Regions from separate parts of the Homo sapiens genome. Here region 2 is linked to region 1. The links are contacts of gene promoters, found by promoter capture Hi-C in blood cells and fetal thymus (Javierre and others, 2016). All regions are on one chromosome and are shown on one strand. The core of a region is centred on a gene start or on the middle of the fragment in contact, and the rest is flanking DNA. Distances in the headings are between cores, read along the strand shown.

Evidence for each region. The method cuts DNA at HindIII sites, captures the fragments that hold promoters and counts their contacts. A CHiCAGO score of 5 or more calls a contact.
Region 2: a fragment that was not itself captured here is called in contact with the fragment with the promoter of OTUD4 in region 1 in 1 of 17 cell types (total CD4 T cells); the score reaches 5.5 in total CD4 T cells.

What each region holds. Positions count from the first base shown.
Region 1 is chr4:145,178,536-145,183,414 of GRCh38, reverse strand. OTUD4 (OTU deubiquitinase 4) reads left to right here and starts at 2,826. Exons shown (of 21, transcript NM_001366057.1): 1 at 2,826-3,600. The coding sequence starts at 3,442. LOC124900794 (a long non-coding RNA gene) reads right to left here and starts at 1,222. Exons shown (of 2, transcript XR_007058294.1): 1 at 1-1,222. RefSeq lists silencers at 2,420-2,819, 2,910-3,139, 3,260-3,719 and enhancers at 2,065-2,894, 2,895-3,724. The HindIII fragment of the contact is 3,984 bases long and covers 1,105-4,879 here.
Region 2 is chr4:139,558,096-139,563,071 of GRCh38, reverse strand. No RefSeq gene overlaps it. Among named protein-coding and RNA genes, the nearest start is that of SETD7, 4.4 kb to the right of the region's middle. The HindIII fragment of the contact is 1,212 bases long and covers 2,149-3,360 here.

The DNA.
Region 1 (4,879 bases), core at 1,577-4,076:
GAATTTCAGAGCTTATCTGGGTAGTTCTGGCCAGGGTTTCTCCTGAGGTTGTAGTCAAGATTTTGGCCAACGCTGGAGTTGTCTGAAAACCTGACTGGGCTGGAGGATTCGCTTCAAAGCTGACTCACATGACTGCTGGAGGAAAGCAGGCTCCAGTTTCTTACAAGGGGAACCTCTCTGTAAATCTGACACATAGCAGCCAGGTTCCACCAGCATGAGTGACCCATGAGACAGGGAGTATGAGAGGCCAATCAAAATGCCAAAAATGTCTCTTATAACCTAATCTCAGAAGTGACATACCACTACTTTTGCTCTATTCTATTGGTCACTCAGACCAATCCTGTTACAAGGTGGAGGTGATTATATGAGTGTGAATACCAGGAAGTGGGAATCACTTGGTGGGGGTCGGGAGTGGGGCATTTTAGAGGCTGCCTACTACAATACCTAACCTTAGGTATTGTTGGAAAAAACAAAACTCCATAAAATCTATCAATCTATGAAGTTTAAAAACAATTTAAAAAATTCTATCTAGTACAATTATTAGCCCTAAAGTTTGTCAGAGTAAACAAACTTAAGGCATTGACTTTGCACAAGAAGAAAAAAGTTGGTTGACTCCTTTGCATAAGTTTAATTTTATAATTTCATTAGGTCTCAAAAGCATTGAATCTTTCAGGTATTATTTGATTAAAATGATGTCTGTTTAGAGTTCTTCACACAGTCAGAAATGGCTTCCTTAGAATAAACATTCATCAACTCTGGTTTGGTTTCTTGAAAAGGTTCAGAAGTTAATGTCAACAAGCAAAGATCCTTTGAAAGTTAAGTGAGTTTCTCTAAGTTTTGGTGCAGTTTAAAGACATAGGATCCTCTAATATTGCCTTAACGCTGAGCTATATTTGGGAAGTTGGCATACAGAGGGTCTGTCTTGGATTAAGTCTCAAAATACCTAAAGGATTTCCTTAAACAGGCCCAGGGTCAGATATAACAGGTGCATCACTTCTAATTTTGGAACCAGAAGCAGCCAGCTTAGAGTGAGGTTGTTCTACATTCATTCAGCAGGAGTTTAGATATTACTTTGAGTTTCTCTTTGAGTTTAAAAGGCAAGCTTTTAAACTCAAAAACAAGGGCGATCCATGTTTTAAGTAGTGGCAATACTCAGGAATTTTTTTTTTTTTGAGAAGAATGAGAAGTATATGCAATGTAAGTGTATTTTAAAAAGAAAAGCAACAGGTTTGACTTGAAGCTATATTTTTCTTTTCCGTTTTTTTTTTTTTTTTTTTGAGACGGAGTTTCGCTCTTGTTGCCCAGGCTGGAATGCAATGTTGGGATCTCGGCTCACCGCAACCTCTGCCTCCTGGGTTCAAGCTATTCTCCTGCCTCAGCCTCCCGAGTAGCTGGGAGTAGCCTCCCGAGTAGCATGTGCCACCACGCCCGACTAATTTTGTATTTTTAGTAGAGACGGGGTTTCTCCATGTTGGTCAGGCTGGTCTCGAACTCCTGACCTCAGGTGACCGGGCTGCCTCGGCCTCCCAAAGTGCTGGGATTACAGGCGTGAGCCACCACGCCCAGCTGAAACTATACTTTTCTAAACCTGATTTCAAAGTGTTTCTTCGCTACAACAAGTAAATTTGAGGCAGGGACATTTTTTCATTTAGGTAACGATAACGTTTGTATTCTCTAAAAGCAGCATAATTTGAGATACAATATTTAAACATTAAGAAATCAAAGACGCTCCAAGGAAAGTGAATACATGACTGATTGCTTGCACTGAAAATACTGAAAAGTGTCTAACGTAGTTTTTAAAAAATTTTTGTCGTTGGACTCTCACCACCTGGCCTGCCTTGCCCCCCATTCCAAGGTATTTGACTACATGTCTAAACCTATAGTAATGCTCCCTTTTCTTCTCCCTCTCCTCCACCATAGCCTAAAAGACTGAATTAGTTCCTATGATTAACCATGTATTTAAATAAGGACACCAGATGTTGTATCTTAGCAAAATAAAATTTTGGTGCAACAGAAGCATGCTGGATAAATTCTGGGTTCTAAAGCATAATTTAACTTTGTCAATTCCCTGCCATTCAACGTCGGAGGGTGGGAAGTTGAGCTGAAGCCTCGAGCACTGGTGGAAGCCATGGCCAGTCCAGTCAGCATGTTATCAAGCAATTTACAAGATGAATTTTTTAAGGGGGAAAAAAAAACCCTAACGTCTTCCGACAGTGACATGTCTCTGTGATGGGGTGCTCAGCTACAGTGACAGGGTGAACAAAAATGTCTTTGGCAAAGCCTTCATCTTGCCGTAGTACGTGAGCTGTACTACTAATAGCAATCAGCAGTCCACGGTTGATTTATGGACAGAGTGTGTCGTCCCGCACCGTGCCAGTTCCCGGAGCCTCAGCCAATTAGCTCTATTTTCTGCTTAAGCCGTTAAAGCCACCTCCATGGAAACACCAGGAGAGCAGGCCGGGGGGAAGGGAGCAGACAGGTGCGCCCTCTGGAAAGAAATACACAAAGGGCCGACACTGCGCCGCCGTGTCCCTGGCAACTCCACGCCAGCCCGGCGCGCGCGATTCCCGCGGCGCAGCGGCAGGGTTGGCGGGTGGCGCGCGCAGGTCGCCCCACATCGGCCGGCGGAGCCCCTCGGCCTGCTCGCGGACGCGGCGCCAGTGCAGCGCGAAGCCGGCTTGGGGCGGTGGCGGTGGCGGCGGCGCGCCCGCGCTGTAGGGACTTGTAGTCCGCGCGCCTCCCGGGCACCTCCCCCGGGTAGGCCGGCCAGCGCGTCCCCGCCCGCCGCAAGCCGACTTCCTGCGGCTGCCAAGACTACATCTCCCGCCGTCCTCTCCGCTGTCGGGCCGAAAGCGAAAACAAATTCTGGGCTGCGAGGTGCTGTTCTCTCCCGGGCGCCCCCACCCGCTCCCTGCCCCTCCGGCGCCCTCCAGCGAGGTGGGGAAACGAAAGGCCGCGTCTTTCTTTTTGGTTTCCTCGGCTCCCGGCGTGGGGAGTGCGCGGGGGCGCAGGCCCCGCTTCACCTGAGCCGGCCCAGCGTGCGCGCCAGGGGCGGGGGTTTTCTCGCTTCACACCGGTACGGAGGAGGAAACTTGTGGGGGCGGCGACCCCCGGCCTGGGTCCTGAGTCAGGCAGCGAGGCCGTCGGGAAGTGACTACTCACTCTCGGGGTTTTCCTTAATCCCGCTCCCCCCGTTTGTCGTGGGCGCGTGTTCGCTCCGAGGAGGCGGCCGCGTGCGGACAGCCATGCATTAGGCAGGGCTTCCCTATGCGCCCGGAGAGCGCGGACCGCTGCCTCGGGCCGCCGCCGCCTGCCGCCGCTCGCGGAGCCCGAGCCCCAGCCCGAGCCGCCGCCTGCCCCAGGCCGGGGCGTCGAGCAGCCGGCGGCCTGGCCATGTGGGGCTAGCCCTCGCCGCGCCTGGCCTGCAGCAGGACCAGCAACATGGAGGCTGCCGTCGGCGTCCCCGACGGCGGGGACCAGGGCGGCGCGGGGCCCCGCGAGGACGCGACGCCCATGGACGCCTATCTGCGGAAACTGGGCTTGTATCGGAAACTGGTCGCCAAGGACGGGTCGTGCCTGTTCCGGGCCGTGGCGGAGCAGGTAATTGCGGGGGGGCGGGGAGGGCTTCGAGGGGAGGCGGGGACGGCCCGGCGGGTCTGGGTGGGGAGGCAGCTGCGGGCTGTCCGGGCCGCCCACGGCCGGGGCTGCGCGTGCCCTGGCTGTCGTCACAGCGCCCCATTGTAACGCCGGAGTGGGACGCTGCTTTGCGTCTGAAAGGTGCAAATTGAAACTCGAAAGCCCGCAAATTAACGGGGTGTCTCTCTCCTGATGAAGAGGTAATGAGTTGAGGACAACTTGTGAGGCCTGCTCGGAGCTTGTACAGTTGATTTATTGCTGGGGACCTGGCGACATGATATTTTTTACTTTTGTTCCGCATTCACCTTCCTTCCCTTCGTTTGAGAAGCACCACGCTCACCCCACTCCAGTAAACCAAGTGTTTACTAGAAGTGGTGGATCAAACTTTACTTGTGGAACATATTTTGGTTTGCTGCTGGACTTTGGAATGTAGGGTAGGCAAGCTCGCCCATGTCACTTGAATCAAATGGGCAAACTGCCGTTTGAGAAAACCAGCCTTTTACAAATATAGAATATTTTGAAGGATTTGTCTTGAGTAGGTTCCACCCTTTATTATGCTCTGCTGGGCTGTGTAGGTATACTAAACAGAACTGACTTTTTTAAAAAAGCCTGTTTTGATGTTGGTAGTAGAAAGGGTACGTGTAACTGGAGCTTTTCAAAACCATTTTCTAACACAGTTGCTCAGGAAGATTTTTCTGAATTTTTTTTTTTGAGCGAGCTTATTCCATGTTATATAACACTGTGTGTTGTAGGTGTGCAGTCACCAAAACCCATCCTATATTGAAAAATAGCTGCCGAAGTAGCTGGATAAAAGTTTCTGCTCTGGTGTGTCTTTCAGACGATTCACATGTGCTTTCCTTTGACCTAGGACCTGCTCCCCACACCCCATTGCACACCCCTCCCTACCCGCCTGTGGGGTTTTTATGATGTTTCTGTTTTCTTTTCCCTCACCTTTTTTGAATGCTAAATAACTTTTAAAATTTCTATTTGTGAGTAAATGTTTTACTTAACATGTGGAGGCCAGTCTGTTCTCATTTTTAAACATTGAAAGGCAAGCCATTTATTTACCATAGGTAGCGTAAAATCTTTCTTTAAAACAAGAAATTGATTTAACGGACACAAACCGTTGCTTTATGTTGCGGACATTGTCATTGAAAAATTCTTCCAAAAGCTCCCCAAACCAGGCTCTGTCCGTTTCTCATTTTCAGTGTTGCTGTGGGGTATGTTCACAGCCACCCACTGC
Region 2 (4,976 bases), core at 1,505-4,004, 5.6 Mb after region 1:
ATCTTTTCCCAAGAATTGATCTATGGACTCAGCAAGGAGGATCAATAAGACCTTAAATGACCTGAAAGGACACGCCAGATCCAAAGAGGCTGCAAGACAGGTCTCCAGCAAATACATACAGGAAGGGCTGGCTTAGCATCAAGCACCTCCGGGTGAGGGCTGCCTGTAGATCGAGGGTTGTCATTTCAGTGCCAGGTCCCAGAAACACTCTAATCAACCTGTCTTTGTTTGTGACTGAGTGAAGAGGACCACATGGGTATTTTCATTTCTGGATATTGGATTCAAAGCCAGACAGTCCCATTTGGAAAATGAAGAGGACACTTTGCCCTCCATCTATGTTATAGTAGATGGAATCTGCATCCTCAAGGTGGCGTTCCGTTGCCTAAGCTATCATAGCAAAGAGCCAACCTCTCCACTCCTGCACAGAATAGAAATATCTTTGAGCTGAGTGCCCAGGAAAACTTGGATGACTGTATCACAGGACAGGCCACGTGGGTCTTAATATGTCTCTGGTCTCTTTCTCAGAAATCATGGTAGCCTAAGAAGGTTGGCCCACTGTTGATGGCTTGTGAAGCAGAAATGAGGTGCTTTCCCAAGAACTTGAGAACCAGGTTGCTCTCAGAAAGTTTGACTACCAAAATCTGCACACTCAATGGTTTTGACTAGAATTCAGTGGGCATAAACCAAGAGAGTGACTCAATTTGTGACTGAGAAGTTTGAGGATTACCTCAAATTCCCATTAAAGTGACTTGGCTGTAATGCCAGGAAGATAGAGAATGTCATTATGACTTAGAAAGTGTAAATCTGCCTAATGGGCTGTATAGGACGCTGTGTGGAGAATCAGGTTTGGAGAAACTAGAGCACGGAGAAAGAAGCTTGAAGCCTCAGAAGCCATAGGGCCCATCTAAGCAGAGGTGAGTGGGATGGGTGGGCAGCCTCATTCTTTCAGAACACTGTATCAGAGTATTTGTCTTGTGGACCACACAACTAATGTCCTTCATTCTACTCCAGATAACTAAGCAAACTTTTGGATGGAATTTGTCTTCTCAAGTGCATTTATTTATATAGAGAGATCTTTTGCCCTGACAGTGTGAGTATTCTGATCTGTCCATCATAATTCAGGCATACATCTCAGTCTCTCGGGGTCTAGTTAATGTGAGTCCACTTGAGGAAGGTCAAGAGCTGACCCTTGATGAATGTTATGACATTTGTGGTAAATAGGTCAGCTGGAAATACTCCTCTGCCCATCCTGGATATTGTAGTGTCAAAAGAGTATACCATGTACCTGCCCTCTGCAATGTCTACTTTTGCAGAGGACCAATTGCAGGACTCAATAATCTTAATTTTAGCCTAGTAAAGTAATTTTTCAAAAACAATTAGAGAAAATAATATCTATGAAAACACATTTGGTTTTGGTGGCGGTTTGTCTTTATTTTTCAAGTTTCTGCAATCCTATTGTTTTTCTAAAGTAATTTCTAAAACAGATGCCCCTTTGAAAACTATTTCCAATTTTTCTTTGTGTGTGTGTGTGTGTGTGTGAGGGTTTTTTTTGTTGTTGTTTGTTTTTTTGAGATGGAGTCTCACTCCGTGGCCCAGGCTGGAGTGCAGTGCAGTGATGCCATCTCGGCTCATTGCAGCCTCCGCCTCCCAGGTTCAAGTGATTCTCCTTCCTCAGCCTCCCAAGTAGCTGGGACTACAGGCATGCACCACCAGTTTTTGTATTTTTGTAATTTTTGTATTTTTAGTAGAGACAGGGTTTCACCATGTTGGCCAGGCTGGTCATGAACTCCTGACCTCAGGTGATCCACCTGCCTCTGTCTCCCAAAGCGCTGGAATTACAGGCGTGACCCACCGTGCCTGGCCTCATTTTTTTTTTTTCAATCATTTCACTCAGCAGCTTCACTAGGCCCAAGCCTGACATAAGAGTTTTCATATCCCATAATGCAAAAAACCCCAAGAACTCTGTGAAGGAACAATATTGGCCCAGAGTCGACCCAAACAGGGAGATCTGGGCTGCATCTTCCCTCCCCTCCCCGCCCCAGAAAGTCTAAATTTAGTTTACTGGATACCCTGCAATGACATTAACATGTCATTGCAACATTAACATGTTGCAAAAACAAGAATCAAGCAAAAGAGAAAGAGGAAGCTTAATGTGGCATGAGGTATTTTAATACCATGGCAACTGTGGTGTCTTCTCTATTATTTAATTCACTTCCTTAGGTCAGGTTATTCTGCCCTCTCTCTCTTGCACTTCCTGTTGCTGTAATCAAATCAGGTCACCCTGAATCTGTAAGTCTTCTTCCTGACTGCACTCATGTCTATTTCCAGCAGAATGAATTTTCTCCATTTCTTTCTTTGCTCCCTGGACCTTTATTTGGTGCCCTTGATGTCCCTGCTCTTCCCAGTGCTCCACAAGCTGCAAACGCTTCCCTTTCATCCCCATCTCCTCCCCCACCCGTCTCCTCCTCGCTGCTCCTCTCCCAGCCCCTCCCTCCAGCTTCTGCAGTTGTCACTAACACAGTTAGCCACTTGATTAGTGACTCAGTGATTCAGAACCCAGGAACCTTGGTTCTCCTAAAACTTCCATGCTTCCCTCCCTAGAGTCAAGATAAAGGTTCTCCCCTCACCTGCCTGCCCAGATAGAGCCATTAACGTGAGAGGACTTGAGTATTCAGTTTGTTGGAGTTGCCCTGGCTTCTTCCCATTTCCTTTTTATGTGCCTTTTCCTGGGGCTTCTCAGGCTCTATTTACCTTTTCTCCAGAAAAGGTGGACAGAGAAGGTTTGAGCTTCGAATTTATGTAGCCCAACTCTTCATTTACAGATGGGAAAACGAAGGCCCCCCCCCCGGCCCCCGCAGAACTGAATTGCCCAGTTGCTTGGCTAGTTCTTGGTGGAACCAAAACAGACAAAGCAAAAACTCAATCAAACTGGCTAATTTGGTGGGAAAAAATCTTGTGAAGGAGTGAGCAGTGCCAAAACGAGACTTGATGATTATTTAAAAGGTCTTTCACTAATTTTATCCTTGTCATCCTGCTGGCGGTGTAAGCAAGTGATGGAAACCAGAGCCAGGCCAGCAACCATAAAGCCACCAGGGCTTCTGGAGAGGCTCTGATGCGACTTCCTACCGCTGAGGTCTCAGAGGCTCCTCCCTCCCAAATACATGGAGACCCAGAAGACTGCTTGGGCCCCTCCACTCCCTGCCAGCGGGCAGGATGAGGAGTCAGTAACAGCCAACAGTAGTGAATCCCACATAAGTTCCACATTCACTACTTGTTTCACAATTCGCTTAGCATGCATAGCAGCGAATTGACAGAATTGTTTCCCCTAAATGTAGGAAGGTGCATAAAATACAAGAAGCTTGTAAAAATATATTTATTGCAAAAGTTATATCAGTCTTGTATGTAAGCACCAGCCTTCTCCAGGGAAAGACAGGGGTGGTAGAATGAATAAAATTAACTCAGTATTTTGACTGCTTGCTGCAATGGAAGAGGGAATTATGTTTCCCAAGCTGGGTATGAAGAGAAGGAATATAGCCTTGGAGGCAATGGAAACTAAGCCAGAGCAGCTTAGAAAAGTCACCCCTCCTCCTGATTCAAGACCAAAGACAGGGAAAAAAAAGTCACTCTCAGTGTGAACATGAAAGCAAGTCTCACCCAGCCTAGATGTTGGATGTCCTGTGCGGTCCCGTTCCTCCCTGGTAGAGCTTGTTCTGTCTCACTGGGATCTGCCAAGTTAGGAGCTGAGCCACACTACTTCTGCTGCTGCTGTTGCTGCTGCACATTGTTTGTGATTAAGAGTTTTATTGATTTTCTAGCCCATGACCACATTGGTGGGGACAGAGTACGACAGGGGAAACTGGTGGAAAGCCAAGTAGAAAGAGAGTTTATGAAATCAGCTCTCAATGAAGAAAACTGTGGGAAAGAATGCGATGGAAGCAGATTTGGGGCCAGTCGATGTGGGAAAGTAGAACAACTCAAAAATGCTCTTCAGATTTGAACTGAAACAAAGCACTTTGCCAAAACATAGGAGGAGAATCCAGTCTGTGAGAAAGCCTCAGCACTGTTTATATAAAACAGAATATTCCTATCTGCAAAATCATTGCTGACAATGCTTAACCCACATTCTGTACCAGGCACTGTGTTGTGTTCTAGGACCATAAATAAGAATCAGTCCGTCTAGAGAAGGAGACTCGAAACATACACAACATGATTTGTAAAGATACAAGTGGATCTTAAGAGAGTCATAAAAACATTTTGCCCCAGCTTTGGGCCCAGAGCCAGCAGGAATGAATGGTGGGGGAAGAGGGATGGGACTGTGTCCCTGCTGCTGCCTGCCTCATGTGCAGATCTGGTGAAGGTTCTCTGTAGTTTGACCCCGCATCACTACTGACTTTGCTAGAAAGACCCTGCTCCCTTCCTGTCCCTGCCTCTTGTAGGTCCAGAGGACCCCTGCTTCACCGACGGCGGGGGCCGGGGTTGGGGGGTGCCGTAGGCAGGGTTTCAGGTGTTCTCAAGGTAGTAGGTAGAAAGGGAGCGCTTGACAGTTTGGGTGCTTAGTACAGGCTGGGAAAACCTCACAGCACCAAGGGGACAGTTGGACACTTGCAACATGATTCCTCCCCTCTCCTTCACTCCCACACGTACCCACCCACCATGAAACTGTGTCTTCTGTACGTCTTGAGAGATTTCTTCCAGCCTCCCAGCCCTGCCTCACTGCCTTTGAGTAAGAGAATAAAGTCTTTTTGCTGCTTCCTTCAGCTTTCAGCATTGTTTTTCACCCTGAAAATCAACTGGAAACTGGGGAAGACGAGTATCTGGTATGTTTTAGTGCACCAGTATAATATGCAAGGGAGGGGGTGATATGTAAAAAGGTTAAATGAGAAAAAATATCATATAATTCAAAACCAGTGAGTGACCGAGCTCAGTAAATGATGGCTTTTTAAAAATCAGATATAAAATCCTGTTTCTGTGGTTCA